2 separate regions of the Homo sapiens genome follow, and region 1 is linked to region 2. Evidence: promoter capture Hi-C in 16 types of primary human blood cells and fetal thymus (Javierre and others, 2016). All regions are on one chromosome and are shown on one strand. Each heading gives the region's core, a stretch centred on a gene start or on the middle of the fragment in contact. The rest is flanking DNA. Distances are from core to core; before and after follow the strand shown. Region 1 holds the start of KLK14 (kallikrein related peptidase 14). Region 2 holds the start of KLK5 (kallikrein related peptidase 5).

The links. The method cuts DNA at HindIII sites, captures the fragments that hold promoters and counts their contacts. A CHiCAGO score of 5 or more calls a contact.
Region 1: the fragment with the promoter of KLK14 here is called in contact with the fragment with the promoter of KLK5 in region 2 in 8 of 17 cell types (M2 macrophages, M0 macrophages, erythroblasts and 5 more); the score reaches 9.1 in M2 macrophages.

What each region holds. Positions count from the first base shown.
Region 1 is chr19:51,080,639-51,085,762 of GRCh38, reverse strand. It overlaps KLK14 (kallikrein related peptidase 14), which reads left to right and starts at 2,876. Exons shown (of 6, transcript NM_001369775.2): 1 at 2,876-3,041; 2 at 3,127-3,188; 3 at 4,060-4,231. The coding sequence starts at 3,149. The HindIII fragment of the contact is 24,105 bases long and covers 1-4,529 here.
Region 2 is chr19:50,949,354-50,954,321 of GRCh38, reverse strand. It overlaps KLK5 (kallikrein related peptidase 5), which reads left to right and starts at 1,284. Exons shown (of 6, transcript NM_012427.5): 1 at 1,284-1,575; 2 at 1,654-1,737; 3 at 4,206-4,467. The coding sequence starts at 1,665. It overlaps LOC105372442 (a long non-coding RNA gene), which reads right to left and starts at 4,199. Exons shown (of 7, transcript XR_007067308.1): 1 at 4,015-4,199. The HindIII fragment of the contact is 21,591 bases long and covers 1-4,968 here.

The DNA.
Region 1 (5,124 bases), core at 1,627-4,126, 130 kb before region 2:
CTCCTGGGGGTTGACCAAGGCCTTCTGCTTAAGTAGGGTGTTCTTTTTAGGAACAGGGAGACCTTGTGTTTACTAGGAAATTCTGTTTTATTTTTAACTTTTTCCTTTGAGATAATTACAGACTCACAGGAGGCTACACACACAGCATAGGGAATCTCCCTCACCTACTTCTCCCCGTGGCGACACCTTGTGTAACTGTCGTTCAGAATGGAAACCAGGAAATCAACACAGAAACCAAACTATTAATGAGACTACAGATCACACTGCGCGTTCATTTTTCACACGCATTTCTTTGCACGTGTGTGTGTGCACGTGGGCTTCTGTGTCTCTTTATCTCATGTGTAGAATCGTGTAATCACCGCCACATCCAGTGCAAAGCTGATTCGTCACCACAGAGCAGCTCCCTCCTGCCACCCCATCCCTGGGTCCCAAGAGAACCCTTTCTTAAAAGAGGGAGTTCTTGACGGGTGTGGTGGCTCATGCCTGTAATCCTTGCACTTTGGGAGGCCAAGGAGGGTGGATCATTTGAGGTCAGGAGTTTGAGACCAGACTGGCCAACATGGTGAAACCCTGTCTTTACTAAAAATACAAAAAAATGAGCGGGGCATGGTGGTGGGTGCCTATAGCCCCAGCTACTCAGGAGGCTGAGGCAGGAGAATCGCTTGAACCCAGGAGGCAGAGGTTGCAGTGAGCCGAGATTGAGCCACTGCACTCCAGCCGGGGCTAAAGAGTGAGACTCTGTCTCAAAAAAAAAAAAAAGAAAAAGAAAAAAAGAAAAAAAAATAAAATAAATAAATAAATAAAATAAATTTAAAAATTTAAAAATAAAGAGGGGGTTCTTGTGTTGATGCCGAGCCTGAACCAAGGCAGAGGAGGCCGGGAAGGCTTCCCAAGGCCTTCAGCTCAAAGCAGGGAGGCCCATAGTTAAACAGAAACAGTTCAGGAATCACAGAAAGGCACCTGGGGAGAGATGGGTGTGTGGCTCCAGATGCAGGTGCCCAGACAGTGCGTCCCCAGGTGTACAGACAGACCCAGGCCAAGCTCCAGCTCAAAGAGCCAGCCTAGGGGGGTGCCGAGGTGGAGGGAGGCTGAGTCAGGCTGAGGCCGGGGAACAGTTGGGGTAGCCAAGGGAGGCAAGCAGCCTCCTGAGTCACCACGTGGTCCAGGTACGGGGCTGCCCAGGCCCAGAGACGGACACAAGCACTGGGGAATTTAAGGGGCTAGGGGAGGGGCTGAGGAGGGTAGGCCCTCCCCCAAATGAGGATGGAACCCCCCCAACTCCAGAACCCCCCTGCAGGCTGGCCAGAATCCTTCCCCATCTCATTCACTCTGTCTCTCCTGCTCTCTGCCGTCTCCTATTTTGAATTTCCAACCCCGTCTGTTAAGACTGTCCTTCTGTCTCTGAATCTCTGTCCCCTTCTCTTTCTGGGTCTCTCTCCCTCTCCCTCTGGGTCTCTGTCCCCCTCTCTGGGTCTCTGTCACTCTCTCTTTGCATCTCCAGCTCTCACTTTGTCTCTGCACCTAGCAGATCCCAAGCTGGGGAATGCCAGTTCTGGCACCAACCTTCCTGCTCCCTGCTGGGGCCTCTGCTCCCCCATCTCTCAGGAGTCGAAAGTGAGAAAGCAAGGTGGGCAGCTCTGCTCCAGGTCCAGGTATCTCCCGCCCACCTCCTGCCCGTCCTCTATCCCACCCCTCCTCTCCATCTCTCCCTGGCGCTGCCATCTCTCATCTAGGCCTCCGTCTCCTCTGTCATTGTCCCCATCCCCTGTAGGTGCCCATCCTTCCCGTCTCCCCTCTGCCATCGGCCTGCCTGTCCCATCCTCTTTCTCCCACCATGTCCCGTTCTCTTCCACGTCTCATGCCCGCACTGCCTTCATCATCATCGCTGTTGTTCTGTGTGTGTTTGTGGTGAGTGCCGCATGGTGGGGGCGTCTCGGCCTCTCTCCTCTCTCTCCACTGTTTTCTCTTTCTGTGTGTCTGTTTCCATTCTATCTCCACCTTCTTCCCTCCGTCTTTTGCTTTTCTATCTCCACTTCTCCACACCCCTCTCTCCCTGCGTCTCTGTGTCTCCCTCTTCCTCTGTCTTGTTTTTTTCCCACCGTCTGCCTCTTCTGTTCCCTGTCACATCCAACTTCCACCGGTTTCTCCAGCTCTCTCCTCAGTTCCTTCTCTCATGAGCACACCTGCCTCTGTGCTCGTATTCCTGGACTCCTCTCTCTCCACTGTCATATCTTCTCATTCATTTTCCCAGTCTCTCTCTGTCTCTTGCTCTCCCCCTCTCTGTCACTCTGTCTCTGTCTCTCTCTTTCTCTCTCTCTCTCTGTGTCTCTCTGTCTGGCTCTCTCTCTGTCTCTCTCTCCATCTCTCTCTCTCTCTCCCCCCCGTCACCCTGTCTCTGTCTCTCTCTGTCTGTGTGTCTCTCTGTCTTTCTCTCTCTCCATCTCTCTCTGTCTCTCTCTCTCTCTCTCTCTCTCTCCCTCTCTCCCTCCTCCCGTGACTCCCTCTCTCAGTCCATCTCTTCCTCCCTCTCTCAGCCCCTTCGTGCCCTTTCCTCTGACACTCCCCACCCTGGTTTCCTGACTCCACCACTAGATCCACCACCTCCAGCAACTGGGAACCCTCCCCTGCCCACCCTGCCCTGGGGTCCCCTCCCAGGATTCCTTCTAGATTATAGCATCTTCCCTGGGCGGGTTCTCATGAACAATTGTGGCTGCTTTTTTGGCCAGACAGGGGAGGGAGGGGATGGGATCAGGGAGTCCTGGAATGGGAACTAGGCAATAAAAAAAAAAAAATGTCAGAAGCAGGGCGGCGGGAGGTGGGGGCAGGGCCAGCTGTCCTTACCAGGGATAAAAGGCTTTGCCAGTGTGACTAGGAAGAGAGACACCTCCCCTCCTTCCTTCATCAAGACATCAAGGAGGGACCTGTGCCCTGCTCCACATCCTCCCACCTGCCGCCCGCAGAGCCTGCAGGCCCCGCCCCCCTCGTCTCTGGTCCCTACCTCTCTGCTGTGTCTTCATGTCCCTGAGGGTCTTGGGCTCTGGGTAAGTGCCCCTTGCTGTCTCTGCCTCTCAGCCCCCGGTTCTGTTGAAGGTTCCTTCTCTCTCACTTTTTCTCTGCATTTGACAGGACCTGGCCCTCAGCCCCTAAAATGTTCCTCCTGCTGACAGCACTTCAAGTCCTGGCTATAGGTAAGAGAACGGTTGGGTATGACACAAGGGGGTCCCCTGGAGACTCTGAGAAGAGATGGGGATGGGTCCTTGGGGCCCCTGGATGCTCATGGTGACCTCATAAGAAAGAGCAGGGAGTGGTTTGGGGGTCATGGTGGGGGAACGTGCTGGAGGCCTAAATTCCTAGTTGTGGAGGTGCTAGGGAATTGTGGGGCCGGGGAGAGAGGTGTTTATAAGGTCTGGTGCAAAATACATAAGGAATCTTAGGGAACTATTAGGTCCTGAGTGGGTCATAGCAGAAAGATCACGGGGCTCTACCTGACTGTGTTAGGAAAGAAACAATGTCAGAAAGATGTTTTGTTGTCAGAGGGAAGGTGGAGAAGGATGATGGGATGGCGGGATCGTGGCATGGGGTGGCGGGATCGTGGCATGGGTGTGTGAGGTGGATGGGGGCAAGTGTGGGGCAAGAGATGGCGGATCCTTGGGGTCCCACTGAGTGGGAACGTTGGGGAGGAGACAGGGAGGTCCTTGAATGTGTTGGGGAAGGACTCATTGGGGGGAAATGTGGCATATTTCGAGAAGTGATCACAGAAATTATGGGAGCATAGAGCTAAGGGTCGTAGATGTAGCAAGGCCCTGGATAAGGTGGCCACGGCACAAAATAAGAGATGCTACGGAGGTGACTTGGGAGGTGAGTCAGAAAGCTCTCCGTGCTGGGGCAATAACGGGGTCAATATTGGGCATGTCTCACCCTGGGTGGGACAGATAGAGGCGGGCAGTTTAGGGGTTAGACCAAAAGGAAGGGGATTTGTCAGTTTTGGAATCCTACAAACTTGTGGAGTGGAGAGTGTTTGCTCATCTACTTTCCCCACCCAATCCTGTCCACTCCTAGCCATGACACAGAGCCAAGAGGATGAGAACAAGATAATTGGTGGCCATACGTGCACCCGGAGCTCCCAGCCGTGGCAGGCGGCCCTGCTGGCGGGTCCCAGGCGCCGCTTCCTCTGCGGAGGCGCCCTGCTTTCAGGCCAGTGGGTCATCACTGCTGCTCACTGCGGCCGCCCGTAAGTGACCCCCTCCCCTGTCCCTGTACCTAGTGAATTCCAGAGTCTAAAGCCCTAGAGCTGAGCTGAGAACCTGGATCTCTGTATAGAACCCAATGTAGTGGCTGGCTCCTGGTTTGAGGTCTAGAGAAGAGCCTGGAACAAAAACACAGCTCGGGATGTGGGCTCCTCCATAAATCTCGAACTCAGCATAGGTTCTGAAAGCAGATGGGCAGCTTGGAACCCATGGACCTGCTGAGAACCGAACATCTGATCCAGTGATTCTTCCAGAGGCCACACATTACATCGAGACCAAGCTTAGCCCATTCCAGATTGGTGGCTGAATTCAGGACCCCGTCTACATTCAGAAACTCAGGACACTACGTAGAACTCAGAGCCCAGTTCAGGACCTGCAGTCTAGCCATAAATCCAGAACTAGAACGCTGCTCACAGCTGGAACATACAACTCTAAGAATAGAGGCAAAACCTGGAGGCTGTTTCACACCCAAGGTTTAGTTCAGAGTCTAGTCTATAGCTCCGCTATGAGCAGACTTCAACCCAGTGTTTGAATCCCAGAATGTGGCGGGTGCGGTGGCTCATGCCTATAATCCTAGCACTTTGGGATGCTGAGGCAGGCAGATCACCTGAGGTCAGGAGTTCGAGACCAGCCTGAGCAACATAGAGAAACCCTGTCTCTACTAAAAATGCAAAATTAGCCAGGCATGGTGGCACATGCCTGTAATCCCAGCCACTCGGGAGGCTGAGGCAGGAGAATCACTTGAACCTGGGAGGCGGAGGTTGCAGTGAGTCAAGATCGCACCATTGCACTCCAGGCTAGGCAACAAGAGCGAAACTCCATATCAATCAATCAATCAATAAATCCCAGAATGCAGATCCTAATCAGAAGCCCCATA
Region 2 (4,968 bases), core at 35-2,534:
ACCGTTTTAGCCGGGATGGCCTCGATCTCCTGACCTCGTGATCCGCCCGCCTCGGCCTCCCAAAGTGCTGGGATTACAGGCGTGAGCCACCGCGCCCGGCCATGATCATCTTCTTGACTATGCTGATGTGACAAGTACCTAAAGCCATCAGACTCTACCCTTTAAATATGCAGTTTGGGCCAGGCACCGTGGCTCATGCCTGTAATTCCAGCACTTTGGGAGGCAGAGGTGGGTGAATCACTTGAGGCCAGGAGTTTGAGACCAGCCTGGCCAACATGGTGAAACTCTGTCTTTACTAAAAAAAAAAAAAAAAAAAAAAAAATCAGCCGGGTGTCGTGGGGCACACCTGTAATCCCAGCTATGCTGGAGGCTGAGGCACGAGAGTCACTTGAACCCTGGAGGCGGAGGTTGCAGTGGGCCGAGATCACATCACCGCCCTCCAGCCTGGGCGACAGAGCAAGACTCTGTCTCAAATAAATAAATAAACAAACGAACAAGCAGTTTGTTGTACCTTAGTTATATCTAAAAAAAAAATGCTGTCAACAAATAGAGCAGAAGTGAAATAAAGGAAAATAAATGGGCCAAGAACTCTAAGGTATATTTGACAAATCATTCAGAACCTTTAAAAAAGAAAGAATCACAGAGGCATAGAAAGACAGGGAGGAACAGGGAGACAGAAACACCTGTGGCCCAAGGAGAACAAAACAAGGCTCCTAAGACAGACAGGAGGAGAGAGAGAGAGAGTGAGTGAGAGACAGACAGAGAAAAAGACAGAGAGAGAGAGACAGAGACAGAGAGACAGAGAGGCGAGAGGGATAGAAAGAGAGAGAGGGGTGGAGAGAGACACGAGATATTGAGAGAGACTCAGAAAGATAGCCGAGGGAGAACCACAGAGAGATGGAAGAAGACTCTGAGAAAAAACCAGAGACAAAGATGGAAAGAGGAGTATCGAGGGTGAACAGACAGTGGTGGAATGAGCAAAATGCAGAGAAGAAAGCAAGCAATCCAGGCGCCAAGAATAGTGACCCAGAGTTGGTGAGAAGCCAGATCCTTAAGGCTGGGGGAGGCAGGGAAGGGGCTGGCCTGGCTTCCGGAGACCCCTCCCCATTCTCCGGGCCAGGGAGGTAGGGAGTGACATTCCGGACTGGGTGGGGGGTGCTCTGGGGGTGGAGATAGGGGGAGCAGGAGGAGCTATTGCTAAGGCCCGATAGGCACCTCATTGCCCGGGAATGTGCCCCAGGGAGCAGTGGGTGGTTATAACTCAGGCCCGGTGCCCAGAGCCCAGGAGGAGGCAGTGGCCAGGAAGGCACAGGCCTGAGAAGTCTGCGGCTGAGCTGGGAGCAAATCCCCCACCCCCTACCTGGGGGACAGGGCAAGTGAGACCTGGTGAGGGTGGCTCAGCAGGCAGGGAAGGAGAGGTGTCTGTGCGTCCTGCACCCACATCTTTCTCTGTCCCCTCCTTGCCCTGTCTGGAGGCTGCTAGACTCCTATCTTCTGAATTCTATAGTGCCTGGGTCTCAGCGCAGTGCCGATGGTGGCCCGTCCTTGTGGTTCCTCTCTACCTGGGGAAATAAGGTAGGGGAGGGAGGGGAAGTGGGTTAAGGGCTCCCCGGATCGCCTGGGCCTCCCAACCCTCTGACATTCCCCATCCAGGTGCAGCGGCCATGGCTACAGCAAGACCCCCCTGGATGTGGGTGCTCTGTGCTCTGATCACAGCCTTGCTTCTGGGGGTCACAGGTAACCAGAACTCTGGGGTGGGAGGGTTGTGGGATTGGGAGGACTGTCTCTGCGGCACTAGAGCGCCTGTCCCCTGGGGAACTGTGTGAGCCTGGGCATGACTCCGGGACCGGGTGAATGTGAGTCTCTGTCTGTACTTGTGGTTGTGCGATCGTATGTGGCCCTGTGACTGCCACGGTGTGTGTCGGGGAGGGGGATGCCTTTTCCCATATCAGGTGACTGTGCGGCAGGTGGCACTGACCCTTTGAGGCTGTGTGTGTGGTTTTGTGATTGTGTGTGCATTTAAGATTGTGTGTGGCTCCACAGCTGTGTGGGTGAATGCATGTAGCACTGGGGGTGTTCACTGTGTGTTTGGCTGTGTGTGGTGACTTGGCATTGTATATGACTGCAGGTATCTGCAGTTCCTGTCCCTGAGGTCCCGGGATTGCGTGCAACAAAAGTGGTCATCACCATGGAAAGCTGTGACTGTGTGCTGCTTGCAGGCGATTATGTGATTGTGGCTGAGTGTGACGTTATGGATGCCCGTATTTGTGACCGTGTGACTACCTGAAGCTCTGTGTAGGGGTGACTGTATGTGACTGTGTGTGTCTGTGTGAGGCCGTGTAAATGCTACTGTATGTGTGATGGTGCAGCTGTGTGTCTGGAGTTTCTGTCTCTGCCTGGAGGGATAGAGGGTGCAGGGGTAGCTATCTCTGGGAGATGGGTGCCAGGTGACTGACTTGCAGTGTGTGCCTGTGTGCAGAAGAGTATGTGGCAGTCTGAACATCTGTGCACACACGGCATCTGTGCGTGGCACTGAGACACTGTGGATGAGGGTGTGCGATCCCGCTAGGCTGCCCGGGAGCGTGTGTACCTGGAGACAGAGCTGTATGTTAGCTGCACCTGTGGAGGCAACATGGGCGTGTCTGCAGAACTGCGTGCGTGCTTGGCTGTTACTGCTGTTGTGCGCGTGGTTCTTGGGGTGAGTTCGTGAATGATGGTGGTGCCAGGGCCATCAGCAAGGGTAAGAACCAGGCCGGGCGCGGTGGCTCACGCCTGTAATCCCAGCCCTTTGGGAGGCCGAGGCAGGCGGATCACCTGAGGTCGGGAGATCGAGGCCAGCCTGACCAACATGGAGAACCCCGTCTCTACTAAAAATACAAAAAATTAGCTGGTGTGGTGGCGCGTGCCTGTAATCCCAGCTACTCGGGAGACTGGGGCAGAAAAATCGCTTGAACCCGGGAGGTGGAGGTTGCGGTGAGCCGAGATCGCGCCATTGCACTCCAGCCTGGGCAACAAGAGCGAAACTCCGTCTCGAAAGAAAAAAAGAAAAAAAAAAGGGTAAGAACCAGTGAATGGGCACGGGAGGACTGATGATGGAGTGGGGCATGCATGTAGTCTGTAGGTCTGTGTGTGAGAGGAGGAGATTGACAGGATTGAGAAGGCATGTTTTCATCTGAGAATTCAGAAACCTAGGCCTGCTCTTCCCCTCCATGTGGCCCCCTAAGCTGAGCCCTTCTTTCCTGGTCCTGCTTTCGGAACCCTAGCTCCGCCCATGAGCTCTGACCCCACCTCCTTTCCTCAACCACGCCCCTAGGCCAGACTCTAGTGGACCCCGCCTAAGGCCACACCCCTTTGGGCCAGGCTCCACCCCCTATTCTGTGGGTACCTTCTAGAACCCCCTTCAAAGTCAGAGCTTTTTTTTTTTTTTTTTTGGAGACAGTCTTGCTCTCTCTCCCAGGCTGGAGTGCAGTGGCGTGATCTCGGCTCACTGCAACCTCTGCCTCCCAGGTTCAAGTGATTCTCGTGCCTCCACCTCCTGAGTAGCTGGGATTACAGGTGCGCGCCACCACGCCTGGCTAATTTTTGTGTCTTTAGTAGAGACAGGGTTTCACCTTGTTGGCCAGGCTGGTCTCAAACTCCCAACCTCAGGTGATCCGCCCACCTCGGCCTCCCAGAGTGCTGGGGTTACAGGCGTGAGCCACCGCCCCCAGCCCAAAGTCAGAGCTCTTTATAGGAGACTCTAACATGTAACCCTGACCCTGGCCCTAACTAAGTCAATTCCAAACCCCTTCCTGCCTCCAGCCCTGACCCCACTCACTGAGGCCTGACCCCACTTCTTGAGACCAGTTCCATCCCTAAAGCCCTGGTCTCCCTCCCATCCCCAGGCTCCAGCCCCCACAGCTTTGGCACTACCCCTGAGCTTGTCCAGGAATCCTGTACCCAATTTTACCCTCACATGTAGTTCTAGCCAATTCCAGGAATCTGTGAGGTCCAGTTAGAGTCCAGTAACCCTACCTGAGCCTGGGCTCTGTCCTTGAGCTTGAGCCTGGGCTTGAGAGGTGCCACTCTTATTCTCCAGGCCCTGCCCCTGCCCCCTCAGCATGTCAGACACCCACCCTCTAGCTGGTCTGGCCTCTTGAGTCTGAAACCCACCCCCAGCCCAAGCCCCGCCTCTGAGCCCCGCCCAACCCATTTTCCGTTCCCAGAGCATGTTCTCGCCAACAATGATGTTTCCTGTGACCACCCCTCTAACACCGTGCCCTCTGGGAGCAACCAGGACCTGGGAGCTGGGGCCGGGGAAGACGCCCGGTCGGATGACAGCAGCAGCCGCATCATCAATGGATCCGACTGCGATATGCACACCCAGCCGTGGCAGGCCGCGCTGTTGCTAAGGCCCAACCAGCTCTACTGCGGGGCGGTGTTGGTGCATCCACAGTGGCTGCTCACGGCCGCCCACTGCAGGAAGAAGTGAGTGGGAGTTCCAAGAGGAGGGTTGGTGGGGACGGGGAAGTGGGGGTGGGGGTGGGGAAGTGGGGGTGGGGGTGTCATGGAGGTGAGGGCTGGTGGGGACGGGGAAGTGGGGTTGGGGGTGTCATGGAAGGTGAGGGTTGGTGGGGATGGGTTGGGGATGTGGGAGCAGGAGGAGGTCGAGTTGGGGATAGGACTAAGGATGGAGTTTTGCGGGGGAGCAAGGTGGGAGGATGAGGTTGGAGAGGGGAGAGTGTTGTGGTAGGGAATGGGAAGGAGCCAAGGATGGGTTGGATTTGGGGTTAGGAGCATATATTTGTTGAATGGTTTGGGATGGAGGTGGAATTGGGATTGGCTTTAGAATTGGGGGTGGGTGAAAATCGGGCTGGGGTGGAAATGAAGATAGCATGGAGATAGGGTTGAGATTGGGAGCAGATATAGAATGAAGGATGGGGATTGGAGTTTTGGGTGGGGTTGGAGATGGTTGGATTTGGGCTTGAG